2 separate regions of the Homo sapiens genome follow, and region 2 is linked to region 1. The links are contacts of gene promoters, found by promoter capture Hi-C in blood cells and fetal thymus (Javierre and others, 2016). All regions are on one chromosome and are shown on one strand. The core of a region is centred on a gene start or on the middle of the fragment in contact, and the rest is flanking DNA. Distances in the headings are between cores, read along the strand shown. Region 1 holds the start of SRMS (src-related kinase lacking C-terminal regulatory tyrosine and N-terminal myristylation sites). Region 2 overlaps ZBTB46 (zinc finger and BTB domain containing 46).

Region 1 (4,166 bases), core at 701-3,200:
CTGGCAGGGAGACGCAACCCTCTCACGTGTAAAGGGACTCAGGTCCCTCCCAGCACCGTGGGGTGTGGGGATGAGACACAGGTGTTTCCCCAAAACATCGCCAGCCTCCTCTGAAGCCCACATCAGGGCTTGGGGGTCAGAGGTGAGCCCCTGTGGGATCCTGAGATGCAGAGGATGTGTCTGAGGTCTCTCCCTGGGGCGTGGGGCCAGGTGTCTGGAGCTAATGACACCTGAGTGTGGTTAGTCTTTTAATCTCCAGCCTAGGCAAATAGTCATTAGCTTTGCCTATGGACCGCCCTGCTCCACCACGAGCCCTGCCCTCCAGGAACTGCTGAAGGGGTCTGTCCTCCACACCTGGGGTGACTGTGAGCCCCTTCCCATCACAAAGGCTGCTTGCCCCCCAACCACTGCTCAGGACAAGCGGGGCAGGTGTGGGGTGAGGGCCTGGGGCCCCTCAGAAGGCCCCTTCCTGTGACTCCGGCTTCACCCGCCCATGCAACCCCCAGGACGATGTGTGAGTGCCAAAGGGCCCCCAGGAGGCTGGAAGTGGCCCTGAGCAAGGCTGACCCCGAAGGTCTCCAGGGCTCAGGCCTTGCCCAGCTGGATGCCAGACCAAGGCAGCCGCTCAGAGCAGCCGCACTGGGCATCTGGACTAGGCGCCTCTGCAACCCCTGCTCACCTGCCCTCACCCAGAGCTCCTGGAGCGTGGGCCCCTGTCTCAGCCCCCAGTCCCAGCCCCTGCTCACCTGCCTTCACCCAGAGCTCCTGGAGCGTGGGCCCGTCTCAGCCCCCAGCCCCTGCTCACCTGCCCTCACCCAGAGTTCCTGGAGCATGGGCCCCTGTCTCAGCCCCCAGCCCCCAGCCCCTGCTCACCTGCCGTCACCCAGAGCTCCTGGAGCTCCTGTCATCTGGTGCCTCCCAGCCCCCAGCCCCTGCCCTCCAAGCAGTGACCGATCCATGAACACTGGACTCCCTGTGTGAGGGCGGGAGGGCCTGGCCAGCCAGGCAGGGTCCTGGAGGAACCGCCTGCTGGGTGTCCAGCTGGTGCAGCTGATGCTCCCCCCCACAGGACCTGACCACGCCTGCCGGAGCCTCCTCTCCCTCTCGGCAGCCCACAGCGGACACTGCTGTTTTCCTACCACACCTGCCGGCCCGGGGCCCATCAGCTGTCCCTGAATGAATGCGTGGATGAACGAATGAATGAACAGATAGCCACGGACATGCGATTTCCAACTCAAAATCCTGCCGTTGTTCTGGACTCCCCAGCTGGGGGCGAGGCAGGCTCTGACTCCGAGGCCGAGGTACTCACGGTTGGTCTGAGAGCGTCTCAGGAGAAGCCTTGGCCACGTGGGTGATGGGCACGAGCCCGGCGCTGGGCTGGCCCGAAAGCCTGCGTGCGAAGATGTAGCCGCCCCCCTCTTCGAGGGCACAGAGCCTGTCCCCGCGGCGGACACTCAGCTCCCCGCCACACCGCGCCGTGAAGTCATAGAGCGCAAGGAAGAGCTGAGGGAAGGGGCTGCAAGGCTCGGCGGGGAGCGTGGGCACTGGGTCAGTGTTGGGGTCCAGGGACCCGGGGGTGCCATGGTCCGGCTCGCCGCCCGCCGGCCAGATCTTGTCCCAGAAGAAGGACAGGAAGGCCAGCCGCCTCCTGAGGAACGGCTCCATCCCCCGGGGTCACCACGCTGGGCCCGAGGGCCATGGGAGCCCGCGAGCCCGGAAGAGGAACTGGCAGGGCCGGTGGGACCCGGTGTCCAGCGCTCCCTGCCCTGGCCGTGGGGTGACAGGGGACCCCGGCCCTGCGGTCACTCAGAGGTCCCCTGGATCCAGGAGGCACACGGTTCCCACCGGCGTCCGGGCTGGCGTTGGGGCTGGGTGGGGCGCAGGGCGGACCCCCTGCCTCAGGCACACCGACAGCACCTCCTGTCCTCGACCTCCTTGGCGTCTGGAGTGCACCGTCCCCTCCCCAACCCGACGGCAGAGGGCAGCTTGGGCTGGGGCGGGGGCGGGCTCCAGGAGGGGCCCGAGGAGGGCGGGGTGGGCAGGGCCAGCCTCTCTCCCGCCCTCTGCAAGGCCCAGGCAGGCGGAATGGCTCTGCCCAGTCAGGCCTGGCCCATGCCCAAGGGCACCACAGTCCAACAGCCGCCCGTGCCCACGGAGAAGTGGGGGTTCCACGGAGAAGCGCTGCTGTTCAGCACCTGCAGTGGTTGCCAAGCCTGAGCTGCACTCAGGTGAAAAATTGCCTGCTTATTTAAGTGTTGGCCAGATATTTTAACATCATTAACCCTGCACCAGGTGCCGAGCCTCCGGCCTCTGCAGTAAATTCTGAGGACAGGCGAGTGAGGGGGCTCTCAGCACCCCGGCTTTCATGCAGTAAAACGAGATGCTGATTGCAGGGAGCTCGGCCGCAGGCCAGGCACCCAGATGCCCCATGCTGCCCGATGACCGGCTTCTGAGTCAGTCAATGCCCAGGCCATACCCAAAGGCCACTGCGGGGAAGTGGAGGCTGCGGACGCCTGGCCCCAGTTCAGGGGGATGAGCACACGGAGAAGGGGCGGCGGGTGAGTCCCTGGCTGGGGACCTCCCACCCTCTCCCTGGACAGCGCCAAGCCCCCGCATGCTGAAGCAAACTCTGCCCGCTCAGGTAGGTCCCCAGATCGGGGCAGGACTGGGGGAGCAAATCCCAGCAAAACCCAGCAGCACGGTACAGGGTCCTGAGGCAGGAGGATGGGGTGGTGGCCATCTGCAGTCTCTCTCTCCTCCCACATCCCCTCCGGGTCCTGAGTGGGGTGGGGTGGGGGCCATCTGCAGTCTCTCACTCCTCCCACCTCCCCTCTGGGTCCTGAGGCACGGGGGTGGGGTGAGGCCATCTGCAGTCTCTCACTCCTCCTGCCGGCCTCCCCCAGCAGCCCCTTCCGCACCTGGGTGGCCTTCAGGGAGCCTCACGCCCCTTTCCCACATCTCACACGCATCCATGCCCCCACTTCATGCGTGTGGCTGAATGCATCCCTCCAATAGGCGTGACCAGTGTCCAGCCAATGACAAGCCCCTCGCACCTGCCTGCCCTGGAGTCACAGATGGGCTTCTCAGAAACCTCACGTCTGGGGACTGGTGTGTGCATTGTGGGGTGGCAGTGACACCCGTGGCCTGGCTCTCAGGGCACCCCAGCAGCCAAGCTGTGTCCGGGCTGATAGCCTGGAGCCAGCAGGGGCCCTGGGAGACTGGACATCGCCAGGCTCAGGGCAGGCTCTGCACCAGAGAGGTGCCCTGCTGGGGGTGGTGGGGGGTGTTGAGAAATGTGGAGAATTGTAAATACTACATTGGGGGTGGCCTTCGAGGGGCCCCAGCGCCTTCTCCTCCCGCGCTTCCCCCCGCCGCCCTCTCCTCCCGCCCCCGCCGCCCTCTCCTCCCCCCACCCGCTGCCCGTCTCCTCCCGCCCCCGACGCCGTCTCCTCCCCACAACCCACCCCCGCCGTCTCCTCCCCTCCACTCCCCCCGCCGCCGTCTCCTCCCCACACCCACCGCCGTCTCCTCACGTGCAGGTGAGGCTTTTGCCCACCATTTCTTTTCTTTACTTTTTTTTTGGAAACAGGGTCTCACTCTGTCGCCCAGGCTGGAGTGCAGTGGCAGCCTCGATCTCCTGGGCTCAAGCCGTCCTCCTGCCGGACTACAGGTGTGCGCCACCATGCCCAGATAAATTTTTTATTATTTGTAGAGATGGGCTCTCACTATGTTGCCCAGGCCGGTTTTGAACTCTTGGCCTCAAGCGATCCTCCTGCCTCCCAAAGTGCTGGGACTACAGGTGTGGCTACCAGCTCTCCCAAATCCTCCCTAGGACGTGACTCTTCCCCGCTAGAACGCCAAGGCCGCAGAGCCCCAGGGAGGCCTCCTCAGGCCATGGAAAGCTCCTGTGCCCACCACACCAGGGTCAGATGTTCAGGGCACTGAATGCAGATTCCTCCCAGACACTCCCTGCCCCTTAGAGCCACGGGATCATGGCACAGGACTCAGCACATTCCATGCCCAGCTGGAACCAGAGGCAGGCCTGGCCATCAGGGTTAGGGCCCCATTGGGCCTCTGCCCCGGCGTGTCTCACCCCCACCGCCCCACCTGCCCACAGATCAGCTCCCCACGTCTGCCCCATCTTCCCCCTCCTTGCACCTGCTGCC
Region 2 (4,682 bases), core at 1,412-3,911, 240 kb after region 1:
CCTGAGCAGCTGGGACTACAGGCGCGCACCACCACGCCCAGCTAACTTTTGTATATTTAGTAGAGACGGGGTTTCACCATGTTGGCCACGATGGTCTCGATCTCCTGACCTTGTGATCCGCCCGCCTTGGCCTCCCAAAGTGCTGGAATTACAGGCGTGAGCCACCCCGCCCGGCCTCGGATAACTTTTGTATTAGAAATGGGATTTCACTACTTTGCCCAGGATAGTCCCAAACTCCTGGCCTCAAGGGATCCTCATGCCTCGGCCTCCCAAATTGCCTCCAAAAGGGATTTTGGGCCTGAGCGACTGCACGTGGTCACCAACTTTTACTGAACATCCAGGGTCTGGCCGTAGCTCAGTGCAGGACGCACAGCAACAACAGATGAGAATGAATAAAATCTACATTGTGTCAAAGTAGAACAGCATTTACCCGCAGGTGGGGTAGAGGCAAGAGGAAGGTACTGTATGACGGATACAGTTTCCCTTTGGGATGATGGAAAAGTTGTGATCGCAGAACTTCATGCGCCACAGAAGGGCATTTTGGTCAGGGATGGACCACAGATAACCACTGTGGTCCCGTAGATTAGAACGCAGCCGGGAAATTCCTGTCACCTGGTGGCGTGACAGGAATAGCCATCGCCATCCTAGCCATCGCCATCCTAGCCATCGCCACATCCTAGCACAACTTTAAAAAATCAGTTTAGTGTAGGCCACGCCAAGTGTTTATAAAGTCTGCAGCAGTGCACAGTTCTGTCCTCAGCCTTCATGTTCCCTCAGCACTCGCTCACCCAGGGCAACCTGCAGTGCAGCAAGCTCTGTGCATGGCAGGGGCCCTACCCAGGCATGCCGTTATCTTGTATACCCTATTTTTACAGCACCCTTTCTATGTTTAGACACACAAACACTTCCCATGGTGCCACAGCTGCCTGCAGTGCTCAGCACCGTAACTAACACTGGCAGGTTTGTGCTGGGCCTATAACCGGCTGCACTTTCTAGTTTTGTGACGGGCGCTCCATGACGCTCCCAGAGCAACAGAATCGCCTAGCGATGCGTTTCTTGGAACCTATCCCTGTCATCAAGCAACGCGTGACTTTAATGCCAGTGAAATGTACATTTGAAAATGGTTAAAATGGTAAGGTTTACATTATGTATGTTCTACCACAATGATAAAAGTTAACGTATTATCGAGCTGTGTTCACTCCCGGCTCTCGCAGATCTCTCAGCGACGGAGAGGAGGGACCAGGGTCAGGAGAAGAGGCCACACCCGCCCTGCCCAGGAAGCCCTCCAGCCAGGGGGGCAGGCAGCGTCTCCCACTGCGCCACCCACACACGGCATCTGCGACATTTTTCAGGGCCTCCCACCCTGCGGCTTGCTGTCTTTCGTCCTCCTCTGTCCACTCACGCCCTCCCACGTTCATTTCCAGGCTTCATCCTGGAGGAACCTCCCCACGGGCAGCACCTGCTAGGACACCTCCATTTCTTCTTTCCTTTAATTAAGAGACAGGGTCTGGCTCTGTCGTCCAGGCTGGAGGGCAGCAGTGCAATCACGGCTCACTGCAGCCTGGACATCTTGGGCTCAAGCCATCCTCCCGCCTCAGCCTCCCAAGTAGCTGAAGTACAGGCACAGGCAACACCACACCCAACTCCAAATATCCTTCCTTGACTTGGGCCACAGCCTGGGGAAAAGAGCAGAGGCCAAATCCCCACAATTATTATTAATATCACATGCCCAGCACCATGAATGGTGGCCAGTATTCAGCAAACATTTAATTTATTATTTACAAATATGGAAGACACATAAGGGACAACCATTCAGGTGGTGACGTCCAGCTTCAACAGAGCTAAGCTCAGAGCCCCTTTGCAGTGAGTAATAGGCAGGACCCAAGGGGAGACCCTGTATCATGAGGTGTAAGAAAAAACATCAGCCAGGCGCGGTGGCTCACACCTGGAATCCCAGCACTTTGGGAGGCTGAGGTGGGTGGATCACCTGAAGTCAGGAGTTCGAGACCATCCTGGCCAACATGGTGAAACCCTGTCTCTACTGAAAATACACAAATTATCTGGGCGTGGTGGCACGTGCCTGTAATCCCCAGCTAATCGGAGGCTGTGGCAGGAGAATCACTTGAATCCGGGAGACAGAGGTTGCAGTGAGCCGAGATCACGTCACTGCACTCCAGCCTGGGCAACACGGTGAGACTGTCTCTTTTTTTTTTTTTTTTGAGATGGAGTTTCGCTCTTGTTGCCCAGGTTGGAGTGCAATGGCGCGATCTCGGCTCACCACAACCTCCGCCTCCCAGGTTCAAGCGATTCTCCTGCCTCAGCCTCCCAAGTAGCTGGGATTACAGGCTACTTTTCTGTATTTTTAGTAGAGACGGGGTTCTCCATGTTGGTCAGGCTGGTCTTGAACTCCCGACCTCAGGTGATCCACCCACCTCAGCCTCTCAAAGTGCTGGGATTACAGGCGTGAGCCACCACACCTGGCTGAGACTGTCTCAAAAAAAAAAAGAAAAAGAGAAAAGAGAGGAAACAAACATCGCCTGTTGGCTTCAACAGCAGAACCCACAGGTGTCAGCAGACACAAAATCCACTTGCCGGGAAAGGCTGCTTCTTGGCTGTAACCTCTCAGGTCCCCAGGTCAAGGCAAGCTGAGCCACCAAGGACAAAGTACATTCACATGGTGTTTCCATTCAACATTCACTATAGCAACAGTGACCAAAGGCAGAAGTCCAGGATGAAAAGCCTGGAGCTGAAGGCCACCCTGGCAAGCGGCCAGTCGAGTTACCCCAGTCAGGGCTCATGGGAGGGTCCCACAGGCCAGGGGAAGCCGACCCTGCAGGCCACGCCCTCACCAGGGCTGAGGGGTCCCCTCCCGGTGTCACCCACCCCCCGGCTCACGTCCCTGTGGCTTCAGAGGGGCCCAGCCCAGGCAGCCCCCGTGTGTGGGTGACACCAGTGCCGTGCTGATGGGGACAGATACACAGGGTCTCCAAGGGCCCTGGTGATGCCCTGCCCTTTGAGATGCATTGGCTGCATTCCCAGCGGTCACGACAACCTCCTGTAAGAGGAAGTGACCCTAGAAAGCCACCAGTGTGAGCCTGGACATGCGTCACTGCCTCCGCACAGCACGCGGCCGTGAGGCCTGGACACACTGGGGCAGCTGAGCCCCCGTAACGAGTGAAAGGCTTACTTGAGTCTCGGCTGCTGAACGGCCACCCCGACGTCGGCAGGAAGGACGGCACCGGGGAGCTGGCCCGGCTGTCATCTTCCACCTGCTGTGTGATGTGCCGGACGGTCTCTTTGTTTTTCCGATTCTTCCTTCGGCCCGTGGGCTGCCAGGCATCACCAGCACTCTGCTCTGAGAAAGAGTTCTGTACTGCACCGTCCTTGGCAGAAGGCAGCTCGCTCCCTCCGTACTGAGACGGTGAAACCTGCTCTTCCTTGATGCGCAGAGGCCCGTAGCCCACGTCTCCAGGCCATAGAGGCTGTGAAGAAACATCATCAGGGCCATCGGCCTTGGGCTCCTGATCCTCTTTCCCGTAGCTGCTCCCTCCGTCGTGACAGCTGGCGATGGCCGAGTCTCCGGAAGAATTGGCAGGACTCGTTCGCCGTGCCAGCCACGGGGAGATGCTCCTCCCAGCCATCACGGCCGAGATGAGAGCTTCCGTGCTGCTGCTGGACGAGGCGCCGATCTCGAACTCCGCAAGCTCATCTGAGGCGTCCGACTTGATGCTGATGTCCAGCGCCGCCTTGATGAAGTCGTGGCAGGCTTGCACGATGTCCGTCATCTGCAGGAAGCTGGCGGCTGACATCACCTCGATGACGTTCCTGCTGGTGAGCGCCAGGTGCGCTGAGTACATGAAGTCGATGATGGCCTTGAAGCCCTGGGCCGTGACGATGTCCAGGTGCGTGACCGTGGCCTGCTCCGACGTCTTCTGCACCTGGCAGTAGAGCGTCTTGAAGTAGCGGCTGCTGCCCAGCAGGACGTTCTTGTGCGCCTTGAAGACCTTGCCCTCCACGACCACGCAGACGTCGCACAGGACGCCGTGCTGCCTCTGCTCGTTGAGCTCCCGCAGCAGGTGCCGGTAGTGGGACGTGATTTCCATATCTTCCTTTCGGTTGTTCATTTGGAAGCCCTGGTGTCGCCTCTTCTACAGACTCTGTGGAGGTAAGAACAAGAGTTACCCAAGCTCAGCACAGACAGAGGCCGTGAGAGGACGCCGGGCGGGGCGCAGGAGGGCCATGGGGCACAGAGTGCGGCCAGTGGGAGGACGACCCACGCGAGAGCCCATCCACAGGTGTGCAGCGGGAGGCCTGTGTCTCCGCCTGAAGCAGGGCAGCAAACACCGGAGGGCACCAGTGCGTCCAGGGTGGGACGTCTGCCACGTGTTTCCGTGCTCGAGGCTAATGGGGTTCTGAACAGAATCCCACATACGGCAACTGGCATATCCCAGGAACGATGAGAACACCCAGCCGTGGCTGAGCAACTCTTACCCAAACTGAGAACTCGGTTAAATGACCTACACTGTGGCCATCCCTCACGCTTGAAGAAACATTCTTAAGGAAAAAGAATAAAACTTCCAGGCTGGGCGCGGTGGCTCATGCCTGTAATCCCAGCAATCTGGGAGGCCGAGGAGGGTGGAGCACAAGGTCAGGAGATCGAGACCATCCTGGCCAACATGGTG

What was found. The method cuts DNA at HindIII sites, captures the fragments that hold promoters and counts their contacts. A CHiCAGO score of 5 or more calls a contact.
Region 2: a fragment that was not itself captured here is called in contact with the fragment with the promoter of SRMS in region 1 in 11 of 17 cell types (activated CD4 T cells, non-activated CD4 T cells, total CD8 T cells and 8 more); the score reaches 12.1 in activated CD4 T cells.

The regions. Positions count from the first base shown.
Region 1 is chr20:63,545,799-63,549,964 of GRCh38, forward strand. SRMS (src-related kinase lacking C-terminal regulatory tyrosine and N-terminal myristylation sites) reads right to left here and starts at 1,951. Exons shown (of 8, transcript NM_080823.4): 1 at 1,310-1,951. The coding sequence starts at 1,665. RefSeq lists an enhancer at 1,024-1,665. The HindIII fragment of the contact is 15,344 bases long and covers 1-4,166 here.
Region 2 is chr20:63,786,634-63,791,315 of GRCh38, forward strand. It overlaps ZBTB46 (zinc finger and BTB domain containing 46), which reads right to left. Exons shown (of 5, transcript NM_001369741.1): 2 at 3,188-4,157. The coding sequence starts at 4,124. Among named protein-coding and RNA genes, the nearest start is that of ZBTB46-AS1, 19 kb to the right of the region's middle. The HindIII fragment of the contact is 7,196 bases long and covers 1-4,682 here.